Regions from separate parts of the Homo sapiens genome. Here region 2 is linked to region 1. Evidence: promoter capture Hi-C in 16 types of primary human blood cells and fetal thymus (Javierre and others, 2016). All regions are on one chromosome and are shown on one strand. The core of a region is centred on a gene start or on the middle of the fragment in contact, and the rest is flanking DNA. Distances in the headings are between cores, read along the strand shown. Region 1 holds the start of TRO (trophinin). Region 2 has its middle 110 kb from the start of GNL3L.

Evidence for each region. The method cuts DNA at HindIII sites, captures the fragments that hold promoters and counts their contacts. A CHiCAGO score of 5 or more calls a contact.
Region 2: a fragment that was not itself captured here is called in contact with the fragment with the promoter of TRO in region 1 in 1 of 17 cell types (fetal thymus); the score reaches 6.1 in fetal thymus.

The regions. Positions count from the first base shown.
Region 1 is chrX:54,918,709-54,922,073 of GRCh38, reverse strand. It overlaps TRO (trophinin), which reads right to left and starts at 1,250. Exons shown (of 13, transcript NM_001039705.3): 1 at 1,196-1,250. The HindIII fragment of the contact is 6,316 bases long and covers 1-3,365 here.
Region 2 is chrX:54,639,985-54,643,349 of GRCh38, reverse strand. It overlaps a transcript of GNL3L not described here. Among named protein-coding and RNA genes, the nearest start is that of GNL3L, 110 kb to the right of the region's middle. The HindIII fragment of the contact is 1,071 bases long and covers 1,322-2,392 here.

The DNA.
Region 1 (3,365 bases), core at 1-2,500:
CCATCTGGTTTCCAAGGCCCAGCTCCTTTTGCCTCCGAGAGAGTCAGTTCTACGACCCCACCCCTTTACACGCCCCCTCCGCAACTCGATAGTGCGCATGCGCACCGACTAGAGGCGCCCCCACCCCCCATCTTAGGCCCACCTCTATCCCAAAAGAACCATTCTTCAATGCCCTCCGCGCGCATGCGCCTTGGTAAACCGGACAGTTTCTAACCAGCTCAATCCCACATCTGCCCCCTGCTCTCAGAGCAACAGAACATCTTGGCGCCACCCCGACCCACTCTTTCTAACTGCATCACATCTCGATCCAACCCTTCCCCCAACACTAGCCCCCTCCCTCCGCTCTGCAGTACCACTCCGCACCGCCCCTACCCCAACACCGCCCATCTCTCCTCTGCGGTACTGCCACGCACCGCCCCTTCCCAATACACCCCCCTCCCTCCGCTCTGCAGCATTTCTCTTCATCTTCCCTTCCTTTAATAAGCCCCCTCCCTCCGCTCTGCGGTACGTCTCTGCACCACCCCTTCCCCAACCAACACCACTCCCCCCTCTTTCCACGTCTGCAAGTGTGCAGCTCCGCCCTTTCTGCAACATGAATACCTCACCCCCAAATCCAACTGTATGAACCTTCTGTGTATTCCTGTTCTCAAACCCTACCAGGTCCTGTCTCTTCCCTTTCAAACCGGAACCAACCGGGTCATATCCCCTCCTTTCTCCTGTCTGAGTCTGGTCCTTTCCGTTGCTCAAAAGGGATGCTGCCCACTCTTATCTCTGGGTCCCGATCCCTCCATTCTGTGGCCCAAACGGGGTACTGCCCCCTTTCTCCAGCCTAAACGGAGTCCTGCCGTCTCCTATCTCCCTCCCGAACTGTGTGTATCCTCCTCCCCTCTTGCTACCGTCTGAAGGATTTCTCGATCCTTCCTTTCTGCGGTCCCAACTAGGTCTGCATCCCTCCCTTTCACGGCCCGAACCGAGTCCAGATCGTTACTTTCTGTGGCCCAAAGGGGATTCTGCCTCCTACTTCCTCCCGTGCGAACTGGGTCCAGGCACCGCTAAAGGCGACTTTGATGCGGTTAGGTCCCAAACCTCCAGCAGGTTTTCTTCAAACCTTAGGGGCGTGTGGAGTCAGGCACGTCGAAGCCGCAGCCAGGAAGCCCCCACAGGGTCTTCACTAAAGCCAGGTACCTCAGCTCACCTCGTCTTCTTGAATCCAGAAGGCGTCTGCTCTCTCCAAGCCTCTCCTTGTGTCTGAGCCTATCCCCCTCCCTGGCCGGAAGTGGTCCTGCCTCTTTCCGCCTCCAGAGGGGGGTCTCCGTTCCTGCCTGTCAGTCTCCTCCCCTCCATACCTACTTTCAACTTTCCATTCTCCTCAATGTAGCTCCCTTTTTCTTCTTACTACCCCTATTCAGTTATCACTCCCTCTTATTCTCCATTTGACTTCTCTATTCCCCACTCTGTATCTCCGTTCCTATTTGATTCTCCTGTTTCCCCTAGGAGGAATGTAGTTCTCTGAACTCCCACACCAACCCTTCCTACAGACCCTCTATCCCAACACTATTTACATAGTGTTGTTATACCTTGTGTCTATGTCTCTCTTCCCTAGAGCTGCTCTGGAGCAGGGGACTAGGTCATATTCATTTCTGTTTTTCAAGTGTTACCACATTAAAACATTTAGAGGTTCTAAACACTAAAAGATAGGGTGCCCGTCCATCTTATGCAATTCAGAATAAAAACAGTAATGTATAAAAATCTATGAAAAGTTTTTATTGATCCCACAATGACTATATTGATGTTTTAACAATATCAGTTTGTACTTAGACTGTCTCTTGTGACATGGTGCACTGTGCCCCCATGCAGAAAACAATTCATGACATTTATCTATTCCATCAATCATTCAAAAGAGAGCAAGGATAACTACACATATGTCAAATAAAATAGACTTAAAGTCAAAAACCATAAAAGATCTTAAAGGTCATTATATAATGATAATGAGATAAATTCATCGTGAATATCGAATAATTATAAACATATTTAATATATGCACCCAACATAGAAGCACCTAAATATATAAAACAAATATTAATAGATCTGAAGGGAGAAGTAGACTGCAATACAATAATGGTAGGAGACTTCAAGACCCCATCTTCAACAATTCACAGATCATCCAGACAGAAAATCGATAGGGAAACATTGAACTTGAAATACACTTTAGACAAAAAGGACCTACGGAATATTTTATCCAATAGAATATATAATATTCTCAAGCACACATAGAAAATTCTCCAGGATAGATCATAAGTTAGGCCAAAAACAAGTCTTTTTTATTTTATTTTATTATTATTCTACTTTAAGTTTTAGGGTACATGTGCACAATGTGCAGGTTAGTTACATATGTATACATGTGCCATGCTGGGGTGCTGCACCCATTAACTCGTCATTTAGCATTAGGTATATCTCCTAATGCTATCCCTCCCCCCTCCCCCCACCCCACAACAGTCCCCAGAGTGTGATGTTCCCCTTCCTGTGTCCATGTGTTCTCATTGTTCAATTCCCACCTATGAGTGAGAATATGCGGTGTTTGGTTTTTTGTCCTTGCAGTAGTTTACTGAGAATGATGATTTCCAATTTCATCCATGACCCTACAAAGGACATGAACTCATCATTTTTATGGCTGCATAGTATTCCATGGTGTATATGTGCCACATTTTCTTAATCCAGTCTATCGTTGTTGGACATTCGGGTTGGTTCCAAGTCTCTGCTATTGTGAATAATGCCGCAATAAACATATGTGTGCGTGTGTCTTTATAGCAGCATGATTTATAGTCCTTTGGGTGTATACCCAGTAATAGGATGCCTGGGTCAAATGGTATTTCTAGTTCTAGATCCCTGAGGAATCACCACACTGACTTCCACAATGGTTGAACTAGTTTCCAGTCCCACCAACAGTGTAAAAGTGTTCCTATTTCTCCACATCCTCTCCAGCACCTGTTGTTTCCTGACTTTTTAATGATTGCCACTCTAACTGGTGTGAGATGGTATCTCATTGTGGTTTTGATTTGCCTTTCTCTGACGGCCAGTGATGGTGAGCATTTTTTCATGTGTTTTTTGGCTGCATAAATGTCTTCTTTTGAGAAGTGTCTATTCATGTCCTTCACCTACTTTTTGATGGGGTTGTTTGTTTTTTTCTTGTCAATTTGTTTGAGTTCATTGTAGATTCTGGATGTTAGCCCTTTGTCTGATGAGTAGGTTGCAAAAATTTTCTCCCAGTCTGTAAGTTGCCTGTTCACTCTGATGGTAGTTTCTTTTGCTGTGCAGAAGCTCTTGAGTTAAATTAGATCCCACTTGTCAATTTTGGCTTTTGTTGC
Region 2 (3,365 bases), core at 608-3,107, 280 kb after region 1:
ACAAAAGACAACAAATGGGTGTGGGAGACATTTGTGCAAATACATATATAATAAGAATATTTATTTCAATATTACAACACATAAAAACAAAAAATTAGAAAAAAATAACCACTAAAAGACATCCAATTAAATAAATTCTGGTAACTCCATACATTGTAATAATATGAATTTGTTTTGTCTTGTTTTTAATAAGGTAGATGTATATGTATTGGTACAGGAAGATGTTAAGTGTTATATGAAAAAGGCAATTATAGAACTTTCATTGGTGTAAACAAAAGCATATATTCATATTTATCTTTATGCAGAAAGATACATGCTTGTTTGTATATGCATGGAAAATGGGAAGATGTAGACAAAACTGTTAACAGTTACTGTCTCTGGAGATTGGTATTAGGAGAGAAAAGCATTGGATGAGAACTTTGTTTTTAGTTTATACATTCATTTATTCTACAAATATTGATTGAACTTACATACCAGCAGTTTTAGATCCTCAGGATACAGATAAGGCTTCTGTTCTCATTTCTGAAGAGGAGGCAGACAATAAACAATTACATAAATGAGCAACGCAATTTCAAACAGTGACAAGGGCTATGCAGGGAATAAAAAGGAGTTTATATGACAGAAAGCAGTGGGGCCAAGAGTTGTGTGGGCTATTTCATACTGCGTGGTTTGGCAAAGTCCTCTCTGAAGAAGTGACAATTGAGTGAAGACAATGACAAGAAGGAGCCAGCCACTGGAAAAGCAAGGGGAAAAGCATTACAAAGAGAAGGGACTCTCTGTTTAAAGCTGGCGAAGGAAAAAAAATTTTTTTTTAAATAAAGAGAAGGAACACTCAGTATAAAGGACCAAAGGTGAGAACAACCTTGGCGTGTTCTGGAAACAGAGGCCAATGTAGCTGGAGCTACATTCCTTTACATTGAAAGGAAATAAATGAAAGGAAGAGTCGAAGGAGCTGATTGATGTTCAGATCAGATTATGTCTGTATTGATTGCTTTTGTTTTTATATGACAAGCTTGTGGTCATTTTTAAAAATAAAAATAACATATTAATGCTTTTAAAAAAAAGATTAAGAGAATCTGACAGACCAGCTCCATCACTGGCTGTGTCACCTTAGTCAAGTTAATCTCACTAAGCCTCAGTTTCTTCACTTGTAAAATGAGGAAAAGTACACTCACCTCAGAGGGCCGAAGTGCAAATTAAATTAAACCTATTTAAAAGGCTGTTTTTGTTAAGACTCTTTTGGATGCAAGGAACAGAAACCCAGTGAAGCTAGATCACGAATCAGAAATCCAAGGGCAGGAAGTGAAGTACAGATAAAGCTTATTAAGCCTGGAGCTGCAGGAAATTTCTGGATGAGGCATGGACCCTCTGCTCTGGAGCTTTACCATTAATGTAATTCATCTGCACTACATGTCTGCTTCTCTCTGTACATCTGCCCCAGCTTCCTCATTCAGCCAACCACCTTGAACTGCTCCCCCAGGATTTTAACAGGCACTTGACCTGATTCATAATGCTGCACCCACCTACCCAGCATCCTGGTCTACTGGACCTGTCAGCTCAGCTCCCCACAACTAACTGGCAACTCTCCTCTGGATCTCTTATTTCACATTCCCAAGAGAGCAATCTGATTGGCCCACCTCATCTTCTAAAGCTGGGCCATACAACTCACAGGTTGTGGGCTGGCCTTGGATCAGGTGCTGTATCCTAAAGGAAGGGTGGATGTAATACATAGTTAGTCCTTGCTTGATCATTTGGTAGGAGCTGTAAGTAGAGCCAGTGCTCCCAGAAGGGGATGTAAAGATGGCCAGTGGCCATCAAAGATAGTGGTGGCATCTCTGATGCATGTGTGCAGCAGAGTGACTGGAACATGGCAGGTGTTCAACAAATAGTCATAATTATTCACGGTAACATTATGCCACCTCTTACAGGAAGCCTTCCCAGAACTCTTAAGGTTCCCAAACTTTTTCACCCAGATCAGGACCCCTACTGCAGGAATCATCCAATTAAGAAATCAATGAAATTTCATTATACAGGACAGACTTTTATGGCCTTCTAGGTATAAAGCACTGTACTGGGCACTGGGAGGAAGGATACACAAATGAATGAGGCCCTTATCCTGGCCTCAAGGAGCTCTGAGGATAGTAAAAGGTAAAAGGCAAACTGAGCCATGAGAAATCCACAGATAGGGAGCTCTGGGAGTTCAGAGAAGGGCAAAAACTGTTGTTTATCCGTATGTATGCCTGTCTCCTGGATACCTCCCTTTAGATGTCCCAAAGGCACCTCGAACTAAATGTATTTAAAACTGATCTCATCTGCTCCCTCCCAAACCTGTTCCTCTTCTCAGATTCCCTGTCTCAGTGAGGCAAGTTCATCCAACCCAGTTGCTCAAGCTTGAAACCTGAGCTGCACCCGCTCACAATGTCAGCTGTTGCAGTTGCTAAAGTTGTCCCCGAACCTTTGGTGTGTGTTTGCCTTGCCCCAAAGGTCAGAACTAATAATAAACTTCTGCATTGCTGCAGGATACGGAAATTAAAACCAGCCTGGAGACAGACAAGACCCGGAGTCCACCAGGTTTGATTTCGGACTTGGCTTCTGATGTCAACGGGTATGATCCCTTTCAGGAAAGCGGGTCGACAAGAGCCTAAAACATGTTTATGACATTTTCCTGGTAATTCTGCTCCTAAATCGATATCCACCCACCCCTACTCCTACAGGAAAAGCTCTAAGCACAAAATTATTCCTTGCAGAGATATATTTTGGTGGTCAAACACTAGAAAGTAGTTTTAATATCCAACAAGAGAAGGGTTAAGTGAATTGTGGCACAGCTGTCTAATGGAACATTCTACAACCATTGCTGAGAGATGACGGCTGTGGAGATTCTATAGCAACAGAGAAAAATTATTATGCCATAACTAAGGATGCAGGGTTGTGTGTACACTCTGACTGCAACAACCTAAAAACTGCATGGCCTCAAGCTCTGCTGATGGACATTTAAAATTTCTCCTCTATTATTACTTTTTAAAAAGGCCTTAACTTTATGTCATGTATGGGTATCTCTGGGTTTGGGGTTTTTGGCTTGTTGTTTTCGTTTTTTCAGTCTTTTCCTTCCGTCAATCAACCGCCTTAAAAATGTGTCTTCTTTGTACCAGGCCCTCCCCGAGGTGCTGGTGATTCAAAGGTCAATCACCCACAACTCTTTCTCTGGGATGTCAGGGCAGAAGAGGAAACAGATACAAAAATAAACAGTTTCAAAAATATATGGGCCAGTCTTTATGGGCCCACTTGTGGACGTACGCAGGCACGGTCACCCCCTGGCGGCCACTCGACTACCAGCTCTTGGGTGGCTCTAACCTCTGGACAGCGGC